3 separate regions of the Homo sapiens genome follow, and all the other regions are linked to region 3. The links are contacts of gene promoters, found by promoter capture Hi-C in human tissues and cell types (Jung and others, 2019). All regions are on one chromosome and are shown on one strand. The core of a region is centred on a gene start or on the middle of the fragment in contact, and the rest is flanking DNA. Distances in the headings are between cores, read along the strand shown.

The links. Contacts are between HindIII fragments. The study calls those that stand out against the background at their distance.
Region 1: a fragment that was not itself captured here is called in contact with the fragment with the promoter of BICC1 in region 3 in 1 of the 25 tissues and cell types used here (bladder).
Region 2: a contact is called between a fragment that was not itself captured here and the fragment with the promoter of BICC1 in region 3, in 2 of the 25 tissues and cell types used here (H1 embryonic stem cells and dorsolateral prefrontal cortex).

What each region holds. Positions count from the first base shown.
Region 1 is chr10:59,168,725-59,172,639 of GRCh38, reverse strand. No RefSeq gene overlaps it. Among named protein-coding and RNA genes, the nearest start is that of CCEPR, 5.8 kb to the left of the region's middle. The HindIII fragment of the contact is 6,010 bases long and covers 1-3,915 here.
Region 2 is chr10:59,193,265-59,197,044 of GRCh38, reverse strand. The region is part of intron 1 of PHYHIPL (phytanoyl-CoA 2-hydroxylase interacting protein like); the gene reads right to left. Among named protein-coding and RNA genes, the nearest start is that of PHYHIPL, 19 kb to the right of the region's middle. The HindIII fragment of the contact is 5,532 bases long and covers 1-3,780 here.
Region 3 is chr10:58,510,730-58,514,498 of GRCh38, reverse strand. BICC1 (BicC family RNA binding protein 1) reads right to left here and starts at 1,627. Exons shown (of 21, transcript NM_001080512.3): 1 at 1,166-1,627. The coding sequence starts at 1,355. LOC124902427 (a long non-coding RNA gene) reads left to right here and starts at 2,447. Exons shown (of 2, transcript XR_007062147.1): 1 at 2,447-2,839. The HindIII fragment of the contact is 7,114 bases long and covers 1-3,769 here.

The DNA.
Region 1 (3,915 bases), core at 1,207-3,706, 660 kb before region 3:
CCAATCATCCGAGCCCCAACTCGTATGCTACATTCTTTTGAAATGATTCCCTCTGTCAAAAACCTTTATGTTGTATTTCTGTGGGGCTTTATAGTTCTGTTACAGACATCATGTTATGATTTATAAGTTATTAATGTACATGAAGAATCAGAATCAAATTTTAGGGACTTAAATATATCTAATTCAATACCTTATCCAATGTCAAAGCCCTTGACAAGAAGTTATTTATCTCCTAATAAATATTAAATTAAAATCCTCATGAAGTTATCCAAAGTCTTTCGCATTCTGAGCCCAAACATATCTCCTATAAGAGCACTACAAAGGCCTTAATTTTCCGATTTGTTCGTGATACAGAATAATAATCCTTCCTATTATACATATATATTCAAATATCTGCCTAAATACTCACGGTTTTTGCAAATGTTTGTGATATCCCATTGTTTTGAGTCCCTCTGTCACTCTACACACTCTCTTCTAGATAACTCCAATTTTTCTGAGTCCATAGGTAAACACACCAGGTGTGGAAATATAATAAGAATATAAAAGAAAGCACAGTAGAGTAACACCATCTTTGTTGTGTGTGCCAGACATCTTGTAATGCAGCCCAGGAGCCCATTAGTTTTTTTGACAATAATATCGCTCTGCTCACATATTCTGAGCTTGCAAAGACATAAAAATCCTGTATCACTTCTGTGAACATTTCTTATTTCTCCTGTGATACTGTAGATTTTAAGCACATATTATAGTATTTGCAAAGAGAAGATACTTAGGACAATTTGCTGAATTATTTTAGTGAACTCCGATACTTCGAATGTATTTAGTTATATTGCTCCAGCTAGCCTAGGATTTTATCAAAGTAGGCTACACAGTCCTTTTGGTAGGCTAGTCCATAGGTCTATCTTATTCATAATAAAATGACCCACAACCCCTGGCACAACTAAGGATTTTATGACTCGCAGAGGGTGCCAAGAACCAAAACCAAACAGAAACAAACTCCACAAAATGCATAATAAATGAGTGCATCTTATTTCCTCTCATAACACTATGGAAACTTTTCCTAAGCCCTATTGTAAATGGAAGGGCAAAGGAAAACTCATAATCAATAGAAACACAGTTGAAAGCAATCCAAATATTCTAAATTGTTTGTCCTGACTCAAGAAGTATTGGGACTTGTGAAGATCAAGTAACATAATGCATATAAAAGTATTATTACGAACTATAAAGCACCCCCAAAAGTTAGGATATTATTACTGTAGGACACCAAAACGACATTAAGAAAGCATATTTGGTTAATTTTACAGTACAAATTTATGGAAATAGTTTCATAACTTCTTAAAAACTGAGAACTTTCATATTTAGACTATCTTTATGGTTTAATGTATTGAGGATTTTAAAACACAAGGATGATTTAACATACAAATAAATAAATATGATATACCATATTAACAGACTATAGGACAAAAACCATATGATCATATCAGTAAATGCAGAAAAGGAAGTCAACAATGTTTAACATCTTTTCAAGATAAAAACCGTTAACAAATTAGGCATTGAAGGAATGCATCTCAACACAGTAAAGACTATGTATGGCAAGCCCATAGCTAATATCATGCTTAATCGTGAAAAATTGAAAGCTTTTGGTGGTTCATGCCTGTAATCCCAGCACTTTGGGAGGCTGAGGTGGGTGGATCACAAGGCCAGGAGATCGAGACCATCCTGGCTAACACGGTGAAACCCCGTCTCTACTAAAAATACAAAAAATTAGCTGGACGTGGTGGTGGACGCCTGTAGTCCCAGCTACTCAGGAGGCTGAGGCAGGAGAATGGCTCCTGAACCCAGAAGGCGAAGCTTGCAGTGAGCTGAGATCACGCCACTGCACTCTAGCCTGGGCAACAGAACGAGACTCCGTCGCAAAAAAAAAAAAAAATATTGAAAGCTTTTCTTCTAAGATCAAGAATAAAATAAGAATGCCCATTCCCACCACTTCTATTCAACATATTACTGGAAATCCTAGCCAGAACAATTAGGCAAGAAAATGAAAAAAGGCATGCAAATAGGAAAGGAAGAAAAATTATCTCTGTTTGCAGATGACATGATCTTATATATGGAAAATCATAAAGACTCCACCAAAAAACTCTTAGAACTTAAAAATTCAGTAAAGGTGCAGGATACAAAGTTGGCATACAAAAATCAGTGGTGTTTTTATACAACAGCAACAAAACAGCAAACTTTTTGAAAATCAAGAAAACAATTCCATTTACAATAGCATCAAAAAGAATAAAATACCTAAAGTAAGTTAAACCGATGATATGAAAGATCTGTACAATGAAAACTGTAAAATATTGATGAAACAAATTGTAAAATACACAAGTAAATGGAAAGATATCCCACCTTGATAGATTGGAAAGATTAATAGTGTTAAAATATCCACACTGTCCAAAGCAACCTACAGACTCAATGCAATCTCTATCAAAATTCCAAAGGCGTTTCACAGAAATAGAAAAAACAATCCTAAAATGTACATGAAACCACACACACACACACACACAAACTGAAGAGCTAAAGTAGTCTTGAGCAACAGCGAAGCCAGAGGCATCACAGTTCCTGATTTCAAACTATATTACAAAGTTAGAGTAATTAAAGCAGCATGTTACTGGCATTAAATGGACACATAGACCAGTGGAACAGAATAGAGACCCAAAATAAATCCATGTATTTAGTCAACTGATTTTTGACAAAGGTGCCAAGAACACACAATAAGGAAAGGACAGTCTCCTCAATAAATGGTTTTGGGGTAACTGGATATCCACATGTGGAAAAATGAAATTAGACCTTTATTTCACACCATAGAAAAATCAACTAAAAATGAGTTAAATACTTAAATACCTGAAACTATAAAACTAATAGGAGGAAACGGGAAAAGCTTCATGACATTGGTAATTGCGGGGGGGGGTGGGGCATAAACCCAAAGACACAAACAGCAAAAGCAAAAATAGACAAATGAAATTACATTAAACTAAAAGGCTTCTGCAGAGCCAAGAAAACAATAAACAGAATGAAGAGACAACCTATGGAATGGGGAAAAATTGTTTGCAGACCATACGTCCTAAAAGGGGCTACTAACCAAAATATATAACAAACGCAAACAACTCAATTGGAAACAGTCCCGATTTATGAAAACAGCCCGATTTAAATAGACATTTGTCAAAAGAAGACGTACCAATGTTCAACAGGTATATGAAAAATGCTCAAAATCACTAAATGTCAGAAAAATCTAAATTAAAACCATAATATATTACCTCACACCTGTTAAAAGAGCTATTAATTGACAAGACAAAAGATAACGAGTGTTGGAGAGGCTGTGGAGCAAAGAAAACCCTGCACATTGTTGGTGAGAATGTGAATTAGTACAGCCATTGTAGAAAACAGTATGAGGGTTCCTCCAAAAATTAAAAATATAATACATGATCCAACAATCCCTCTGTTGGGTATATACCCAAAGGTATATCCTAAATACATGTAATTTTTATCAGTCAAAATATTTTTTAAAATTTAAAATGATCCCACCCTCTCTTTCCTGGGGGGAAAAATGAAGGCAGAATGAAGTTGCTCATTTGCTCTTATCTTTAGCTCAGTAGGTTCCGGTAACTTGTCACTTCTCCTTCCCTCATCTGTGCTCTTCATTCAGTGCCTGTGTACTGCAGGATAGACATAGCTTCCTATTTTTCTCCCCTCTAGCTTCTTCAGTCTTTCTCTTTCTCCGGACTCTCTTTTCTTTCTCTTTTTACATTGCCAAATCTCCTTGATTTTAAAAACTATCTTACTTGAACCAGTTATTGTCCAATTTTAATATTCTAATGTATGGAAGGGGCCCATTATAAAATGTGAAGTGCTATAAACGTGGTATTCATTGCT
Region 2 (3,780 bases), core at 886-3,385, 680 kb before region 3:
TTTTAGCTCCTTGATGAGCACCTAGATTGAGATTTCATATACATAACTAAAAATTATCTTGAACTGTTTACCTCCAGAGCCCAGGGAATTCATCTAAATTGCTATATACAACATCACGTTAAAATACGCATTTAAGAAATCTTTTTGACAATAAAGAGTATATAATTGTGTAATGAAATCCATCTTTGAATACATTGGGTGGATTTATTTATTACAGATATACCTTGCTGTGTAAAGCAAGACGTACAAAAATAGAATATAATACAAATCTATTCTTAAAACTTTTTTCATCTCATACCCCTGCATAAAAAATGTTGACAGTGTACTTGGCCGGGCGCGGTGGCTCACACGTGTAATACCACACTTTGGGAGGCCAAGTCGGACGGATCACAAGGTCAGGAGATCAAGACCATCCTGCCTAACACGGTGAAACCCCATCTCTACTAAAAATACAAAAAATTAGCCTGGCGTGGTGGTGGGTGCCTGTAGTCCCAGCTACTCAGGAGGCTGAGGTGTGAGGAGAATGGCGTGAACCCGGGAGGTGGAGCTTGCAGTGAGCCGAGATTCACACCACTGCACTCCAGCCTGGGCAACAGAGCAAGACTCTATCTCAAAAAAAAAAAAAAAAATGTTGACAGTGTACTCATAAGTGCAGTCATTTCTTTATAAATTATACATATATATATATACTAATATATTATGTACATTATAGACTGGGCAAAATAGCAATTTAAAATTATAAAATACAAAATAATTTTAAATATTTTATTTTTATCTACTTCAGAATAAAAACATTTTACTAAAAATATATGAATATGTGTTATTTTGATAAACTTGGTTTAACATTTTGTGACACAGCAATTCAATGACCAATTCTAAATTCAGTTTATTTAGATACTTTGTTTTAAGGGCTATCACAGTTGGAAAAGGTATCACACAAGAATGGGTACATCAGGCTGGGAAAGTACATCACTATCTGTATGTACAAAACACTAAGCATATACCAATTATACACATGTACCTCATGCACATAGAGTATATGTGACAGTTTGATATATCAAGTATTAAGCTCTATAGCTAACATTAATAAAACTTTTTCTTATTCTAGATAATATAAAAATAAACATTAACAAAAGTTCTATTACTTTATTCCATGGTCCAATTGATTATCTATTATGCCTTCTGGAGTTCATAAACATCACTTGAAGACCATTACAATATAACCATGGCATTTACAAAGGATACTTTTCAAAGTCTTTACATATGTAAAAACAATTAAAGCATATAATTTACCAAGTAGTAGAATACAACAGAAAAATGTTAGTAAGCAATGGGTTTCGAGACATGGTACCCTAAAATACTTTCAGCTGAAAGAATTTGAGAAAACAACAGAAGCAGGAAGGTCACTCCTTCTCCTACCCTTCTCCCCTGAGGCAGGTCATAAGACCTTCACTGGAGAGATGGCCTCCCTATACCTGGAGGAAAAGAATATCCTTATCTCTGAAGACATAGGACACAGAGGTGAATCTGAAGAAACAAGTCTTGTGAAGTTCCCACCAGCTTATTACCATGAAATCATACGCGTTTGTCTTCCAATTATACTTCTCCATGACTGTCCACTCTTCATCAAACCTAACATTAAAAAATACATAGGTTTTACCCATTTCTTTGGGTTTTCATTTCCTTATGAAGGCTCCCACGTCATGCACAGCTTATATTACATAAATTTGTATGCTTTTCTCTTGTTAGTCTTTTGTTATGTGGCCTCAGCCATGAACCTAAGATGAGAAGGAAAGACATTTTCATCCCCTACACAATGCATTCACAGACTCTTAATGATAATGTGAGAATAAAAGTCATTTTAAAAGCAATTAAATTCTAGCACCAAAATAAATTAAACAATACCTTAAATTACATAATTAATATAATAACATTAGTCAGTGCAAATATTTTGTAAAACACTTTTAACAAATCCTTTCCCCCTTTCTGTTTTCTTATATTCCACACTTTTCTTTCTCAGGGGTCATTTTTTACTTAAAAATAATGTTTTTGACATTTCACAAGAATTCTGTATGCTCAAATAAAATATAAAGAAACATTGACAGAAATGCTGGGCAACAAGCTTTCTACACTCACAGGTAAATGCCAGAAATTCAGCTGTCTAGCATGCTATTAAAATTGTCAATAAATTATCCGATTTAGCTACCTTTGACATGGCCTATAAATAGGTGAAGTTAAAAATGCTGGATCTTTGAATTTCCAATGTCTAGCATATACTTCCTCTCATAAAAATTTCAGAGATAACTTAAGAAACCGTTGTTTTAAGACAAATTAGTTGGTATCACATTTCACTGCCATTTTGCCTTTTTGTCAAATCCTTCTGAAAGAAACAACGAAGAACACTGCAGAACTGACAGAGAACACTATTGCAGGGAAAATAACTATTCCCTGATTAATGTGTTTTCTAAGTTTAGATATTTCAGATTTCCTTAAAATATGGCACATCAGCATTTCACAGTGCAATGAAAATAAATACACACACATTATCTGCACTAAATAGCACTATGCATGCATTCAGGGAAATATATTTAAAATTCTCATTAAAATATTATCATATTAGAGTGAAACTAGGTGGTGTTTCTATGTCAGAAAATTAAAATAGAAAAGTATTAACACTATAGGAAAAGAAATTGGAAAACATTCTTGAAACTATTATGAGGGTAGCAAAGGAAAACATTCAATGGTGGATCCATATGAAGCTCTTAGAAAAATAAATATCTTAGAAATACAAAAAAATTAGCTGGGTGTGGTGGTGCACACCTGTAATCCCAGCTACTCAGGAGGCTGAGGCAGGAGAATTGCTTGAACTTGGGAAGCAAAGATTGCAGTGAGCCAAGATCACACCACTGCACTCCAGCCTGGGCAACAGGGCAAGACTGCCTCAAAAAAAAAAAAAAAAAAAAACATATAGGTAAAGAAATACTTCTACAATACATAGTGCAAAACAAAAGTTCTAGAAGAAGTAGCTAAATTGTATTTGGAATTTGGAACGTTTATCATTATTTTAAGCTTAATTTCAATTCTGTAAATTTGATCATTAGAATGTAAATATGTAAAGCTTTTAGCAAAACAAGTAGTATAAACAGCAAATTCCAGAACCACTGCTTTTTTAGTCATTAGGGCTTCCTTTTTTAATCACCAAAAATAACAGCCAAAAAAGTTGTATCAAGCTAACAAGCACCACATAAATTAACATTGGATATACTGAATTACACCAGAAGAAAATATATAGAAATAGGCTCAAATATTCAGCCTTAGCACAGCTTGAAAATGTTATACAAAAACTAAAAAACCATATTTATTAAAATGGAAGGTTTATCTAAGCTTAAACAAAAAGAGTCTGCAAGAAAAATAAGTTTAAAAAAAGAGACTATGTCTTATTGTAGCCTAGCACTCAACAAATACCCTAGTAAACATGAAAATTAGTAGGTTCAAGGTCAAAAAGAAAATCTTGGACATATGTGTTCAATTTGAAAGCCTTAGACACAGATTTGCTGAAGATTTTAATTTTTCTTTAGGCTTCACTGTCACTGTTTTTCTGCTAATTTGAGTTCCACCAGTTCATTTATTTTATGCACTGTATTTATTTTATGCAACACAGATTATGTTGCTTAAGGGGAAAAAATTAATCCAGTGTATTTCTACAGTAAGCACAGATAATCATACACTTAGTTCTCTTGTCAGTCAAAATAAGGGGGAGAAATCTATCAAGCACAGAGC
Region 3 (3,769 bases), core at 378-2,877:
TTAATTGTTCTAAAAAGCCACTGCATTTCCACAGAGGGCTAAATCATTCCCATACTGCGATGCATTGACTGATAAAGTCAAAGTAAGTTATGCATAAAGCCACAAATAACGTTTGAAAAACTCCAAACTCCTCCATGATAAAAGAACACTAGCTACTGAATGAATCTTCACCAGCGCCCTAAGTGAGACTAACGCCTGGTCCCGTACACGTATTTTAAGAATAACAGTCATTCAAACTAACTCATTTCTCTCTTTGGATGTGGGAAATGAGCCACATCGGTGGCTACAGGTAGGCTAGTAATTATCTGTTTTAAGAAAGGTCAAAATGACCTTGGACGTTTTGACGTTCACTCCAACACTCGTATTATAAATCAGAATCTGTTTTCGGTCCAGTATGGTTGAAGATTTTCTACCTGGGAAAGTCCCAAAGAAATTAAAGAGTTAAAAATAATTCTAAGTTGTGAAAGACAAAGTCAGACACCCATAGCATAGGAAGATTTTTATGGACTGAATGTAACTCAAGATGTGTTTTATAAGCCTGTCAAGAGATGAACACTGTCCTCAAACACAGCAGCACTGCCTCCACACTCCCCCCTCGCTTTGGCTGCTCACCCCGATCCTGGCCCTCCTTGACCACAGGGGTGGGGGCGGGAGCTCCTGTCTTAAGCCTTGACATCTGCAGAGCGTTTCCCAATAGTGAGACAAGGCCCCTCAGCTGGAGGAAGTGGATACTGACAAGGGGAGAGAGTGAAACAGACGGAGAGAGACAGAACTCGAGGCTGCCAGGGAATGGGGAGGGTCACGCATACTCTGTGCGGCCCGAGTGGTCCGGATGGCACAGCCCAGGTGTCCGGGCTAAAGTTGGCATCTCCAAAGTCCAGAACGCAACTTGGGCGCGCCAGTACAAACTCGGCCTTCGGCTTTTCTGAAGCCAGTCAAGTTCGCACAGGGCCCCCAGCGCCTGGAAATCTGAGAGGCGTGGAAGGGTGGGGAGTCCCGCGAAGTCTCCAGTCCCTGGGTGTCCTCCGGCTCCGCGGGGGAGCGGGCCTGGAGCTAAACCGGCCGGCCGTAGGCTGGAGTAGCGGGCGCCGGAGCGCGCGGTGGGGATGTCCGAAAAGGAGTTAGAGGCTCAGTCGGAGAGTCCGAGAACACGAGGGATGCCTACCTTGTAACATGGCCTCAAGTTTCTTCCTGTCCACGCGGAAGCGCTCCTCGCTCCACTCCGGGCTGTGCAGGGTCGCCCCGGCGACCAAGTCGTCCTCGGAGCCGGGCACTGGGGAGTCGGTGCTGCGCTCGCTGTTGGAGCCGGGGTCCGACTGCGCCGCCAGGTAGCCGGGCTCTCCCTGGGCGGCCATGGTGGGCGCGCAGCGCTCGGGCTCCCGCTGCCGCCGCCGCTCTGCCTGCGCTGCCGCCTCCGCTCGCCGGCCGGGCTCAACTGGCTCCCAGCGCCGCGGCGCTAGCTCGTCCCCCTGCAGCCGCCGACGCCACCGCCAACGCCGCCGCCGCCACTGAGCCCCCGGCGCATCCCAGCCCCGGGCGCCGCCCACGCCACCCGCCACCCCGGGTCGCGGCCCCGGTCCGGGTCCAGTGGCTGCGCCGCCCCCCGCCAGCAACGCCCGCGCGGAATGAGCGCGCCGCGCTGCCCGCGCCTCCATCCGCAGGGCTCGGCGCCCCCTCCCCGCCCGCCGCCCCTACAGCCGCGCGCTCATTGGCCCGGCCAGCCCACGGGGAGCCGCGGCGGGCGGGCGGCCCCTGGCGCTCACACACTCGCGCGCGCACACACACACCACGTACACACTGCCACTTTCTGCACTTACACGTATAAATCCTTTCCATACATGCACTTTCATAGCTCCTCAAACACACACACTCCTGAACGCACATGGAGTATCCACGTAATTCCTGTCTACACACACACATCACACACACTACTACTTTTCTGCACTTACACATACAAATCTCTTCCCCCTACATGCTCTCATAATCCTCCAAACACACAAACACAAACACGCCAAGTTCAAGCACAGCAGAGTCCTGAACGCACACTAAGCGCATACACAATTCCGCTGTTTACATACATACCCTACACCCTGAAACTCACAGCCCCAGTTGGTTCCACAAGCTCGAACGTGAGGAAGAGGAAAAAGAAGGCTTGGAGAAGAAATCATGCCCGTCTTTCGCAGGCATCGCCATGGACGTGGCTCGCATGTAGTTCATACCTCCAGGAAGGGCTCAAACCCAGACACCTCGTCTCCTCCCAGCAAAGTGGCCCGCTGCACGAGAGGTGGACAAGAGGCTTACTCTTTTTATTCTGAGAAAGGGAATTTTTTTTTTTCTTGAATGGAGTAAGGAAGGAATTGTTTTCTCTGTGATTCTCAAGGAATGGACTCAGCAGACTTTTTTTTTTTTTTAAGTAGAAAAGGGGCTCGGAGATCGCTGTGTTGGCGAGCTGGATCCAGCTGGCACGTGGGCAGGGCTGTCTTGTCAGGGACTGAGGGCTTTTCTCTGTTTTCAAGGTCAGTCTCTGACAGATGACGGCCAGTAACCTCTGAGCCTCACTGCCGAGGGCCAGCCCACCCACGGCCTCTGTCAAGCTTGGATATGAAGCGCGGGGGAAGAGGAGACTCGCTCGTACTGGGTGTGCCCTTGGAACTCTGTTTTCCCAGTTCACACAGATTCATAGCCTATTATTTTATGACCCAAAGTACAAAGACTTGCGGGGAGGAATGATGGGGATAGCAGTTTGTCACTGCGCCACAGAAGGAGGCTGCCTGGCTCACATGTAGGAAGAGCCATATCACTGGCACAGGCCTCTGGATAATCATGGAATATGCTGAAGGTAAATCAAAATTATTTCAGGTTCAGCTGCCTAGTTAACAGGAATTGACCCTGTGATGGGTACAGATGAGGAAACTGAGACCGTGGGAAATAAAGTAACTTGACTAAGGTTGTCCAGCAGCAGATAATACAGCCAATTAATCAGACCCAGGTCTGTGGGTCTTTATATAAAGTCTTACCTTTTTGAGCGGAGACCCCTCCTGCCCAGAGTCACCTCCTGAAGAACTGAGAGCATCTGCACACTTAACTGCTCTGATTCACCACCATGTGTTCCTTTTATAAACTTGTTAATTACTGTTAATTTCTATCCAAGGCACTAGTTTCAGCACCCAAAGGGTTTATGTAGGAGCATTCCCACTGTTTTCCATCAGGGACATTTACTGTGTTTTTCTATCAACAAATATTTATTGGGACCCTACTATGTACTTGGCACTGTTAAGCCCAAGGAATAGTAAGCAAAGACAGACACATCCCTGTACTCCCTCCTGGAGCTGAAATTCTAATGAGAAGGAATACTGACCAAAAAATAAATCACAAATATAAAATCATGCCCGCAGTAAGCATTACAAACAAGAGACTCAAGATATGAGAAAACCTATGATAGAGTAATTGGATTCAGTCAGAGAGGTCAGTGAAGGCTTCTCGAAACAGTGACTCTAACTCAGAACAGACGTTGGAAGAGAAGTTAACTAGGCAAGGGAAGGAAGAGCCATCCCTGCAAATGATCATCTGATCATAGTAACATCCCTGAAGGTAGATACTACAATTATCCTCATTTTAGAGTTGAGGAAACTGAGGCACAAAAGGTAAAATGACTTGCTCAAGGTTGCACGACTAAGTTGAAGAATAAGAATTTGAACCCAGGCAGTCTCTTGAAAATTAGGCTTCAGGTGCTTTATGCTTAGCCAATAAGTTATATTGGCTCTCAATA